2 separate regions of the Homo sapiens genome follow, and region 1 is linked to region 2. The links are contacts of gene promoters, found by promoter capture Hi-C in human tissues and cell types (Jung and others, 2019). All regions are on one chromosome and are shown on one strand. Each heading gives the region's core, a stretch centred on a gene start or on the middle of the fragment in contact. The rest is flanking DNA. Distances are from core to core; before and after follow the strand shown.

Region 1 (6,792 bases), core at 942-3,441, 100 kb after region 2:
CAGTTTTAGGCTCTTTGAGAAGTCTCCCAACTACTTTCCAGAGTGCTAAACTAATTTACATTCCTACCAACAGTGTATACGTGTTCCCTTTTATCTGCAGTCTTGCCGGCATCTGTTGTTTTTTTGCTTTTTGATAATAGCTATTCTGACTGGCATAAGATGGTATCTCATTGTGGTTTTGATGTGCATTTCTCAAATGGTTAGTATGTGGAGCATGTTTTCATGTTTGTTGGCTGCCTGTATATCTTCTTTTGAGAAGTGTCTGTTCATGTCTTTTGCCCATTTTGTGATGGGGTTGTTTTTTGCTTGTTTAATTGTTTAAGTTCTTTATAGAGTCTAGATATTAGACCTTTGTCAGATGCATAGTTTGCAAATATTTTCTCCCATTCTGTAGGCTGTTAACTCTACTGATTGTTTCTTTTGCTGTGCAGAAACTCTTTAGTCTAATTAGGTCCCACTTGACAATTTTTGTTTTTGTTGCAATTGCTTTTGAGGACTCAGTCATAAATTGTTTCCCAAGGTCAGTGTCTGGAATGGTGTTTCCTAGTTTGTTTGTTTGTTTTTTCCCTAGGATTCTTACAGTTTGAGGTCTTACATTTAAATCTTTAATCCATCTTGAGTTAATTTTTGTATGTGGTGAAAGGTAGGGTTCCAGTTTCATTCTTCTGCATGTGCCTAGCCAGCTATCCCAGCACTATTTATTGAATAGAGTCCTCTCCCCATTGCTTATTTTTGTTGACTTTGCTAAAGATCAGAAGATTGTAGGTGTGTGGCTTTATTTCTGGGTTCTCTATTCTGTTCTATAGGTCTATGTGTCTGCTTTTGTACCAGTACTATGCTTTTTTTTTTTTTTTTTTTTAAACACTGTAGCCTTATAGTATAGTCTGAAGCTGGGTAATGTAATCCCTGCAGCTTTGTTCTTTTTGCTTAGGATTGTTTTGGCTATTTGAGCTCTTTTTTGGTTTCATGTAAATTTTAGAATAGTTCTTTCTAGTTCTGTGAAAAATGACATTGGTAGTTTGATAAGAATTATGCTGAATCTGTAGATTGATTTGGACAGTATGGCTGTTTCAACAGTATTGATTCTTCTAATCCATGAGCATGAAATTTTTTTCCTTTTGTTTGTGTCACCTGTGATTTCTTTTAGCAGTGTTTGTAGTTCTCCTTGTTGAGATCTTTTACCTCCTTGGTTAGATGTATTCTTAGGTACTTTTTCTTTTTCTTTTTTTTGTAGCTATTGTAAATGGGACTGCATTCTTTACTTGGCTCTCAGCTTGAATGTTACTGGTATATAGAATTGCTACTGATTTTTGTACATTGCTTTTGTATCTTAAAACTGGGAAGCCATTTATCAGTTCCAGGAGCCTTTGGCGGAGTCTTTAGGGTTTTCCAGGTATAAAATCATATTGTCTGCAAAGAAAGATAGCTGGACTTCTTTGCTGTTTGGATGCCTTTTCTTTCTTTCCTTTGTGTGATTGCTGTGGCTAGAACTTCCAGTGCTCTGTTGACCAGCAGTCAGGAGAGTAGACATCCTTGTCTTGTTCCAGTTCTCAAGAGGAATGTTTCCAGTTTTTCTCATTCAGCATGATGTTGGCTGTGGATTTGTCATAGGTGGCTTTTATTTATTTTGAGATATGTTCCTTGGATGCCTAGTTTGTTGAGGGTTTTTATCATGAAGGGATGGTGGATTTTATTGAAAGCTTTTTCTACATCTATTCATCTGACTTCCTTTTTTCTGCTTGACCTAATAGAAAAAATTTTCAGCCCTACTTGAAATGAATTACCTGAGCTGAGGGACTGAGATTGCTGCTGGCAAATAGAATTAATGGACTATTTTTTAAAGAGGGCAAAAAGCTCCAAACAGAAACGTTTCTGAGATGTGTTGGGGCATTTTGGGAATAAAGTAACATGCATTTATAGGGAGATACTAAAATGAAAATATAGGAATTTCCTTTTTTTTCAGTTATTTAGCCTTTAAAAAAATACTTATGGTTGCATAGGAAGTTGCAAAAATAGTGCAGAGTACTATGAACCCTTCACCCAGCTTTCACCAATAGTGTCATCTTATATAGCTATAATACAATATTAAAACCATGAAAATGACATTTGTACAATATCATTAACTAGATTATAGCCCTTATTTGGTCTTTATATACACTTGTATATGTTTGTGTGTGTATGTACAAGTCATGCAATCTCATCCCATGAATAGATTTGTGTAATGGCCACCACCACAATCAACATACAGAACCGTACTGTCATTACAAAGGAATTCGCTTGGGCTGCCCTTTTATATTTGCACTCCCACCCCGTCTTTATCTTCTTGCAACCACTAATGTGTTCTTCTCTATGTGAATTATATTTATATTTATATTTCCTTTTGATACAGGGTCTCACTCTGTCCCCCAGGCTGGAGTGTGGTTTTGCAGTCATGGCTCACTGCAGCCTCCATCTCCCAGTCTCAGGTGATCCTCCTGCCTCAGCCTTCCGAGTAGCTGGGATCACAGGCACAAGCCACCATGCCTGGCTAATTTTTTTTTTTTTTTTTTAATTTGTAGAGATGGAGTCTTGCTATGTTGCCCAGACTGGTCTCGAACTCCTGGGCTCAAGTGATCCTCCTCCCTCAGCCTTCCAAAGTGTTGGAATTAAAAGGGTGAGCCACTATGCCTGGCCTTTATGTGAATATTATATAAATGGAACCATATAGTATATAACCTTTTGAGATTTTTTTCAGTAAGTATAATGTTTTTGAGATCCGTCTAAATTGTTGCATGTATCCACTCAGTTCTTTCCCTCTTTGTGTGTAGTATTCCATTGTATGGTCACACATCACTTGGTTATTTACTCACATGTTGATAGATTTTATGTGTTTGTTTTTTGAATCTGCACCACTGGCAATGGATTTTTTTAAAGCTATTAACTTTTTTTTTAAATTAAAAACAATTATTTTTTGTTGAGATGGTATCTCTGTCACCCAGGCTGGAGTGCAGTGGCATGATCTTGGGTCACTGCAACCTCTGTCTCCCAGGTTAAAGTGATTCTCATACCTCATCCTCCCGAGTAGCTGGGATTACAGTCGCCTACCACCATGCTCACTAATTTTTGTATTTTTAGTAGAGACAGGGTTTCACCATGTTGGTCAGGCTGGTCTCGAACTCCTGAGCTCAGGTGATCCACCTGCCTTGGCCTCCCAAAGTGCTGGGATTACAGATATGAGCCCCATGCCCTAAAACTATAAACTTTTAAAAGTTTTGTATGTATTCTAAATATAAATTCCTTGTTGGATATGTGGTTTGCAAATAACTTTTTTATTCTTTTTAACAGAGTGTTTTGCATAACACATTTATTAATTTTTTAAAAATAATTATTGTTTTTTTTTGAGTCAGAGTCTCTGTCACCTAGGCCATAGTGCAGTGGCTCGATCTCGGCTCACGGCAACCTCTACCTCCTGGGTTCAAGTGATTCTCCTGCCCAGCCTCCTGAGTAGTTGGGATTACAGGTGTGTACCATCACGCCTGTGTAATTTTTGTATTTTTAGTAGAGACAGGTTTTTACCATGTTGACCAGGCTGGTGTTGAACTCCTGACCTCAAGTGATCCACCCACCCCGGCCTCCCAAAGTGGTGGGATTACAGGCGTGAGCCACTGTGCCCATCCTAAAATTGTTTTTCTGTTTCTTAAAAGAAAAATTTTTTATACTACCTTTATGTGTACAATCTCTTTTTTTTTTCAATCAGCTTTCTTAGGTTGAAAAATGTCTTTAATTTTGATGAAGTTCTGATTGTGTTCTTGGTGTCATGTCTAAGAACTTTTCACCTATTCCTAGGTTCTGAAGATTTTCTCCTCTGTGTTCTTTTAAAAATTTACAGTTTTATTTTTTACATTTAACTCATGATCAATTTTGAAGTAATTTTTGTGTATAGTGTGAGTTGTAGGTTAAGCTTATTTTTTTATTCAGCTCATGGATGTCCAGTTGTTCTAGTATAAGTTATTGAAAAGTGTGTCCTTTCTGCATTGAATTGCTTTTCCACTTTTGCCAAAAATCAGTTGGACATATTCAGGCCGGGCACAGTGGCTCATGCCTGTAATCTCAGCACTTTGGGAGGCTAAGGTGGGCAGATCACCTGAGGTCAGGAGTTCGAGACCAGCCTGGCCAACATGGCAAAACCCTATCTACTAAAAATATAACAATTAGCCAGGAGTGATGGTTCATGCCTGTAATCTCATCTACTCGGGAGGCTGAGGCAGGAGAATCACTTGAACCCGGGAGGCAGAGGTTGCAGTGAGCTGAGATCGTACCACTGTACTGCAGCCTGGGTGACAGAGTGACCCTCTGTCTCAAAAAAAAAAAAAAAAAATTGGACATATTTGTGTGGTTTATTTCTGGGTTCTCTTTTCTGTTCAGTTCACTTATGGGACTCTCCTTCTGCCATTACCACAATGTTTTGATTACTGCTGCTATATAGTAAGTCTTAACATTGGGTAGAGTGATTCCTTACACTTACTGTTCTATTTCAAAATGGTTTTAGTGATTTTTTTTCTTTCTACATAAATTTTAGAATAAGCTTTTTTATATCTACAAAAAGTCTTGCTGGGATTTTGATAGGAATTACATTAAACCTATAAAGAAATATGAGATAAAGGAAAAACTAAACTTTTACCTACTCTCAAACTCACCACAACACAGGACCCTTCTGACACCACATTTATGGGTTTTTTTTCCCTGTACACCAAACAGCAGACAGAAGCTGGGTGCCTTATAATTTAACTCAACTCCTATACTGCATGCCTGGAATAAGCATCAGATCCCATAGGCTAAGGCCCTGTCCCATAAGATTGCCCCTACTTTAGATCCAGTTTCAGTCCTAGCTGGTTTTACCTGTTCTTTTGACTGACCAGCTATAAATTGGATACAGATGAACCACCAGGTGGAGAAGCACATAGGATGAGGCAGGTGGGAAGGAGTGTGGAGCTTCACCCGCTCTGGGCTCACTATCCTCCAGGTACCTGCATGTGGTCAGGATCCTGGAAGCTCTCTGAACCCTGTACTTCACTGATTTTCATGGCAGCTTTATCACATAGGCATGATCCCCTTCCCAGAGGATTGGAGGGTGAGGTGGAAAGTTCCAATTTTCTAATCATGGCTTGGTCTTTCTGGTGCACAGCCTCCATACAGGAGCCCAGTTAACATTCCCTTTGTTAGAACAGAAGGCATGTCTATCACCCAATAAATTCTAATGGATTGGGAGCTCTGTGTCAAGAACTAGGATGAAGACCAAAAAATATATATTTTTATTATAAATCACGATATCACAATAAGTTTTGAGGAGAAATGGCTTTTTTTTTCTATTTGATTCTTCTGACCCATGAAAATAGTGTGTCTCTGCATTTATGTAGATTTTTAATTCTTTTCATCAGCATGTTGTAATTTTTAGCATACATATCTTGTATGTGTTTTGCTGCATTTCTGTCTCTAAGTATTTTATCTTTTTGTATTTTCATGCTGCTTGCCAGGAACAGTCTCAGTCCCTCAGCGCTGGTAATTTATTTCAAGTGGGGTTGAAATTTAAGAGGTCAGATAGAAAAAAGAAATGAGATGAAACTTTTTTTTTTGCAACTTTAAATGATGTTGTATTTTAAATTTTAGTTTTTACATGTTTGTTGCTACTAGTATATAGAAATATGGTTGGTTTTCGTGTGCCGATCTTGTATCCGGTGAGTTTGCTGAACTCATTTAGGAGTTTTTCTTGTAGATTGAGCATTTCTACATAGGCAATCATGTCATTTTCAAATAGGACAGTTTTATTTTTTCCAATCTATATATTCCTTTTCTATCATTTTCTTTCTTTATTGCTCTGGCTAGGATTTAATTAAACACTGAATTTTTATTCTGGTAGTGCTGACTTCAGGAGCCTAATTTGGGACTAGCAAATGCTAGTTTTACTCACCTTATCATTACAGTTTCAGATCTTCGGCTTCTCTTGGGCTTCAGAAGTTTAACTTGGATTGATCTTGAATATTGATCTTGAATATGCTGAAGGCAGGAAAAGCTCTGTCCTGAGTGTATACACAGTGCAATATAATTTTTATTTATTTGCCTCCCTTGAGTGTGAGCTTCTTGAAGAAGACAGTTCTGAAGATACAGGGCTTGGTACACAGCAAACTTGTAATTAATGTTTGAGGTCAGGCATGGGTGGCTCACATCCGTAATCCAATGCTTTGGGAGGCTGAGGTGGGGGGATTGCTTGAGGCCAGGAGTTCAAGACCAGCCTGGGCAACCTAGCAATATCCCGTATCTAAAAATAATAACAGTTACAATTGTTTGTTGAGCAAATATTTAAATGAATAAATGGAACTAATATGTGGCTTCTTCTCATATAAGAAGTCTAGGGAAAACCTTTTCAGACAAGGTATAGTGTAACTCAGGTTGAAATGACAAATGTGAGACTATTTGCAGTCACACACGCAGTTGCACATGTGATTTTGACATCAAACATTTTTGTTTATTTTTGTTTACTTGCATGCCTTGTAAGTTTCATGTTTTACTAACAAGACACTTTATTCTTTGAGTGTTACATGTCGTTTGGTTTGGCTTGCTTCTGTATGTTAAAAAAACGTTCTGTCTTTTGAAAAGATACCATTATCTAATTGGTTTTAAGTTAGGAGAATTCTAAATTACAGGGCACAGTAAAATAAATGAGCAATTATACCGAGGAAGAGCAAAACAAACAAAAAAGAATCATGGAACCATGTTTTGTATATACGTGGGGAGAAGTTATCCTTTAGATCTGTT
Region 2 (6,346 bases), core at 1,333-3,832:
AACTTATTGAGAAATTTGATTGAGAGATTCGAAGGTAGCTGCTAAAACTTCATATCACCATCTACAGAATATCAACATATTACATATAACTAGCATATAATAGCAAGAAGTGTTTGAGGTGATGAATATGGTAATTACCCTGATTTGATAATTATACATTATATACATGTATCAAAATATCACACTGTACCTCATAAATGTAAATATAAAACAATTATTATGTGCCAATTTAAAAAATATCTATTTTGGGGGACAGGGTCTCACTCTGTCACCCAAATTGAAGTGAAAAATAAATTTTTTAAAGAGGGTGAAAGGGGCTGGGCACAGTGGCTCATACCTGTAAGCCCAGATTTTTAGGAGGCTGAGGCAGGCAGATCGCTTGAGTCCAGGAGTTTGAGACCAGTCTGGGCAACATGGCTAAACCCTGTCTCTACTAAAAATACAAAAAAATTAGCCAGGCATGATAGCACAGGCCTGTAGTCCCAGCTACTCAGGGGAGGCTGAGGTGGGAGGACCACCTGAGCCAGGGAAGTCCAGGCTGCAGTGAGCTGAGATGGTGCCACTGCACTCCAGCCTGGACAACAGAGCAAGACCGTGTCTCAACAACAACAACAACAAAAAGCAGGTGCGGTGACTCACGCCTTTAATCCCAGCACTTTGGAAGGCTGAGGCGGGTGGATCACCAGAGGTCAGGCGTTCAGGACCAGCCTGGCCAACATGGTGACCCCATCTCTACTAAAAAATACAAAAAATTACCCAGTCATGGTGGTGGGCGCCTGTAATCCCAGTGACGTGGGCGGCTGAGGCAGGAGAATCGCTTGAACCTGGGAGGCAGAGGTTGCAGTGAGTGGAGATGGAGCCACTGCATTCCAGCCTGGGCAACAGAGAGACTCCGTCTCAAAAAAAAAAAAGGAAAAAAAGGGGGTGGGGGCGGAGAAACCATGTATTTGGCCCTACACAGAAATGTGACCTGGAACTATTATCAACATGACATGACTGTCAGGCCTTTTCTGTTTTACATTTCTGTCAGCACATTTTGAACCCTAGTGGTTTAATTACAAGGTACCTCCTCTGTCCCCTACTTCAAGGCATCAAGCACAGCCACTGAGCTAAAATGCTGCCTCCTGCTACAAGAAAGAGTTGACTGAATATCCATTCGGGTGGCAGACAACAGAAATACTAGTCTGTTACCATGCTTCTCAGTAACTGCTGATACCATCCCACTGTCAGTGGAGTAGGAACGTCATCCCAAAAGGTGGCATGTGGAGTGACCATATTTCCAAAGGAAAAGAGCACAATTCTGTGACGTTGCATGCCTCACGTGCCCCAAACTTGAAAAGCAGATTGTTGACTGGGCAAGGTGGCTCACACCTATAACCCCAGCACTTTGGGATGTCCTGTCGGGAGGATCGCTTGATTTTTTGTTTTTTTTTTTTGTTTTGTTTTTGTTTTTTGTTTTTTTTTTTTTGAGACGGAGTCTCGCTCTGTCGCCCAGGCTGGAGTGCAGTGGCACGATCTCGGCTCACTGCAAGCTCCGCCTCCCGGGTTCACGCCATTCTCCTGCCTCAGCCTCCCGAGCAGCTGGGACTACAGGCGCCCGCCACCACGCCCGGCTAATTTTTTGCATTTTTAGTAGAGACGGGGTTTCACCGTGTTAGCCAGGATGGTCTCGATCTCCTGACCTCGTGATCCGCCCGCCTCGGCCTCCCAAAGTGCTGGGATTACAGGCGTGAGCCACCGCGCCCGGCCAGGGAGGATCGCTTGAGTCCTAGAGTTCAAGACCAGCCTGGGCAATACAGCGAGCCCCCCGCCGCAAAAAAAATTGTTTTAACATTAGCTGGCTGTGATGGGGCAAGCCTGTACTTCCGGCTACTTGGGAGGCTGAGGTGAGAGGATCGCTAGAGCCTGAGAAGTCGAGGCTGCAGTGAGTTGTGATCGCACCACTGCATTCCAGCCTAGGAGAAGGGGCGAGACTGTCTCAAAAAAAAAAGCAGATTATTAGGAAACGGTAGAAATGCCCAGAGGAACTAAAGCGGACCTATGTTTGCTGGCTTTGAATTCACTGCTGGGAACATGTGGAAACTGCTTCAGCAAAGGGGTGTCAGAAAGAATCCCCGGAACAAGTGTCAAAACACCCGTGGTTCTTTGTGCTTGAGTTGGGGGCCCGGCCTAGAGAGCTAGCCCTAAACTGCTGCTACACTAAAAGCTAATAATCGTTCCTGCGCTACCTAAAGGTCAGGGAAGGGATCTCAGACAAACGAGGCGACAACAGAGGGACTGGGGACACAGCCTCAGGATTCCCCAGTTGGGGCGGGGGAGGCAGGAGCGGTCCGGACGAGAAGGTCTGGGGAGGGCGACACTTAGACTGTCGGAGGAAGGCCTGCGGCGGCAGAAGGAAAGACAAGGAAATACACAGTTCTAGAGGCTTCTCTCACTCCAGTCCTCAGGGGTCCGGAAAGCCGGAGGGAGTAGAAGAGGAAGTTCCCAACCCCGTCACAGACGCGCCCGAACGCAGGCCCTCCTTACCCGCCGCTTCCCCTTCCCTCCGGCGCCCGCTCAGGCCCTGCGCGCGCAGTCGCGACCAGCCCCGGCCGGAGAGGGCGGGGGAAACCTGGCGGGGGTGACGAGGCGGGAGTGACTGGGCCGTACAGTTCCCCGAGAACTGGAGGCGAAGCCGGGCGGTGGGAAGGGACTTCGGACGCTTCGCGGGCCCTGGGTTTTCACTGCGCGTGCGCGAGGTTCTTCCGCTCGCGGGAGACTGGGCCGCTGGCGCCTCTCAGTGCCCACTGATGGGGCCCAGGGCTTGGGCTTGCTTCCCCAAGGATCAACAGCTTAGCTGCAAGCCTCTGCTTCTGCCTGCTGGGGCCGGCTGGCTCGCCCTTTCCATTCCGCTTGCACTCTGATTCTTGTGGTGTCCCAAGAAGGCCGCGGATCTCAGTTAAGCAGAGACGAGCCGAACACCTGGCACGGTCCTTCTCTACTGTTCTCTCGAATCGTTTTCTGAGTGCATGACTGAGCCTGGCACTGAAGGGATACTTATTTTGGGGAAGGAAGAACTCAAAAGTCCAGTTTTTTTCACTGTTGACCCTCATGTGTCACATTAGTGGCTTTCAAACTGTTTTGATCCCAGCCTACGGTGAACAAAAATATTTTACATCAAACTCAATACCACATACTTGTGAGTATATATATAGAAGTATATATCTAACATAAAATCTCATTTCTTTATTTTTATTTTTATTTTTTATTTTTTGAGACGGAATTTCGCTCTTGTTGCCCAGGCTAGAATGAATGCAATGGCCGGATCTCGGCTCACCGCAACCTCCGCCTCCTGGGTTCAAGCGATTCTCCTGCCTCAGCCTCTCAAGTAGCTGGGATTGCAGGCATGCGCCACCATGCCCGGCTAATTTTGTATTTTTAGTACAGACTGAGTTTCTCCATGTTGGTCAGGCTGGTCTCAAACTCCCCACCTCAGGTGATCCGCCCGACTCGGCCTCCCAAAGTGTATTTCTTTCTCTTTTTATGAGACAGGGCCTGGCTTTGTCGCCCAGGCTGGAGTGCAGTGGTGCCATCTCGGCTCACTGCAGCCTCGACTTCCTGGGCTCTGGTAGTCCTCCCACCTCAGCCTCCTGAGTAGCTGGGACTACAGGCCTGTGCCACCACCGCCAGGCTAATTTTTTGTATTTTTAGTAGAGACAAGATTTCGCCATGTTGACCAGGCTGGTCTCCAACTCCTGGGCTCGAGTGATCCGCCCGCCTCGGCCTCCCAAAGTGCTGGGAGGTGTGAGCCACTGTGCCTGGCCTGAAACAAAATCTTCACAAAACTATGTTTACACTTACGACCCGCAGTGCACTAAATTTTTATTTCTTCTTTTCTACTTCATTACCAAAAACTGCTAACAGGGACCTATTGTCAGCAAACATTGTCAAAGACTTGGAAATGAGGAAAAGAGAATTCTGTGTGCCCTTTCAGTGTAAGGCTGGACGGATTTGCATCCATAGGGAGCTCTGACTTTCTATTGACTAAAGTATTTCACCAGAAAACTGGTAGTACTTAAAATAATTCTTGCCCGTCTGTAGAAAAGATACACCAAAACATTGTTTTATTGACCTGTAGCATATTAAGCCATTTTTACCCTTCTCAGCAAATTCATTTAAACATTCCTGATTCTTAGCAAATTCATGCTACATTCCTAAATATCTTACTGGCTCCCTTATAAGTTAATGAGATAAATAAAATATTTGATACTTTTTTTTTATATTTGTAAGAGAGTCATGGTTTTACTCTTCAGAAAATTATACTTCAGCACTACTAAAATCAATTTCATGACTTACTCTGGATTACACTTGTGAAAGTTAAGCATACAGATTGGGCCATTCTTCTCATACCCACCGAAAATGGTGGGAGGGGAAACACTGAGGGCACATTTCATTGCTCAAAGAATGTAATTCTCTGCAACCCTGTCTGCTGAAACTGCCTGTTGTAACCTGAAACCAGTTTTACCCAATAGCTATTGAAACAAACTGCCATGACTCAAAGACTAGTTTGGTTTTTTGGTGGTTTTTGTTGTTGTTGTTGGTTGTTGTTTTGTTTTTGACAGGGTCTCTCTCCCTGTCACCCAGGCTGAAGTGCAGTGGTGTGATTGGGGCGGGGCTCACTGCAGCCTTGACTTCCTGGGCTCAATCAATCCTCCCACTTTAGCTTCCCAAATAGTTGGAACTACAGCTGCATACCAGCAAGCCCAGTTAATTTTTGTCTTTTTTGTAGAGACAGGGTTTCATCATGTTGCCAGGCTGGCCTTGAACTCCCAGGCTTAAGTGATCCACTCACCTAAACCTCCCAAAGTCCTGGGATTACAGGCTTGAGCCACTGAGCCCAGCCTCAAAGGACTAGTTTTACCCACTGCAGTCACTCACCAATCAGAGCTTGCCAGCAACCTAAAACTTTCCTAGTGCCAATGAACTTTCTTTCAAAGCCATATGTAACATTTCTCCTTTTTGTAAAACCTCAAAGTGAACCAAAGAACACCCAGTCTGTGTATATGCTTTGAATTGCAATTCTTGCCTCCCAAATAAAATGTTAACTTTAGAATTGCTTGGACCTGGGAGGCAGAGATTGCAGTGAACTGAGATCATGCCACTGCACTCCAGCCTGGGCAAAACAGCAAGACTTTGTCTCAAAAAAAAAAAAATGCTTATAGGCTGCTATAGACTAAATTGTGTCCTCCCCATAATTTACATGTTGAAGCCCTAGCCTCCAATGTAATGGTATTTGGAGCTACCACAGTGAGGCAGTGGGATGCGTCTCCCCATAAAAGATAATCGCTAGCCCCTCCCGAAGGAGAACAGGATCCCAGACGAGCCCCCAAATTTATTGGAAACAAGTGCTTGGCGTAGCCAAAAGAAACCCACACTTAGACAGAAAATTTCTCAGTAAGGCACCTTTACTTCTGCAGGATGGTGCTGCTTGCGCCTGTTAAAATCACAAGAGCACACCAAACAAAGGAGGGAAGGAGTTTTTAATCCTAATGCAGTTCCTGTTTTTGTGTCCTTCCCCTATTGACTGGGGTTGGACTGCACAATCTAAGCTGATCCTGATTGGCTAAGACTTAAACTTTTCCAAATATGGTAAACGCACAATTTGCAAAAAGAAGAAGAAGGGGGGCAGGTAGGATTGATTTACAACTTTTACAACTTACGAGCGGAAAGTTGAGTCTTTGAAGAGGCACTTAGTTGTCCCAACAATTTCCCCTCTTCTGTTCTATAGCTCTTCCTCTTCAGATTTCTTCAACAGGATTTGGCTTTGTTGTTCTTCTTGATTATCTAGGAGCAAGAACTTATCTGAGTACAGAGGGGGAGACGTAGGGGAGGATTTTGTGAGAGCTGCTTCTATGAGCCTTTGGGTTAACCCACGAATATAGGGTATGATACAGCAGCCCACAAGGATGAGTACACCTGTAACAATTGCAAGGGAGGTAATGATTGAGGTCATGAGTCCTTTCCATTTTCCAAACCACCTTTCCATCAGGCCCATAAAGGGATCTTCTATTCCAGAGTTTTCGGCTAATTCATTTGCTGGGGTGGTAAGGCCTTGTAAGGTTTTTGAGATTGTCCCATCGGGTGGTGTATTATTAGGGATAAAAGTACAACACTGGACCCCAATCATGACACAGACTCCGCCTTTTTTGGCTAACATCATGTCAAGCGCTATTCTATTTTCCCAGGCCATCTGGCTGGTAGGGCCTAATTGTTCAGCTATTCCTTTTATGGCATCTCTGGTATAATTGATGAATCGCTGCTGATTGTAGTATATATAATTTATCCAGTCTACATTTTTATTTATAGT

The links. Contacts are between HindIII fragments. The study calls those that stand out against the background at their distance.
Region 1: a contact is called between a fragment that was not itself captured here and the fragment with the promoter of IPP in region 2, in 3 of the 25 tissues and cell types used here (adrenal gland, aorta and mesenchymal stem cells).

The regions. Positions count from the first base shown.
Region 1 is chr1:45,849,998-45,856,789 of GRCh38, forward strand. All of the region lies in intron 3 of MAST2 (microtubule associated serine/threonine kinase 2), which reads left to right. Among named protein-coding and RNA genes, the nearest start is that of MAST2, 50 kb to the left of the region's middle. The HindIII fragment of the contact is 4,121 bases long and covers 132-4,252 here.
Region 2 is chr1:45,748,071-45,754,416 of GRCh38, forward strand. It overlaps IPP (intracisternal A particle-promoted polypeptide), which reads right to left and starts at 2,583. Exons shown (of 9, transcript NM_005897.3): 1 at 2,527-2,583. It overlaps LOC105378693 (a long non-coding RNA gene), which reads left to right and starts at 2,879. Exons shown (of 3, transcript XR_947290.2): 1 at 2,879-3,178. RefSeq lists a silencer at 2,424-2,693. The HindIII fragment of the contact is 34,877 bases long and covers 1-6,346 here.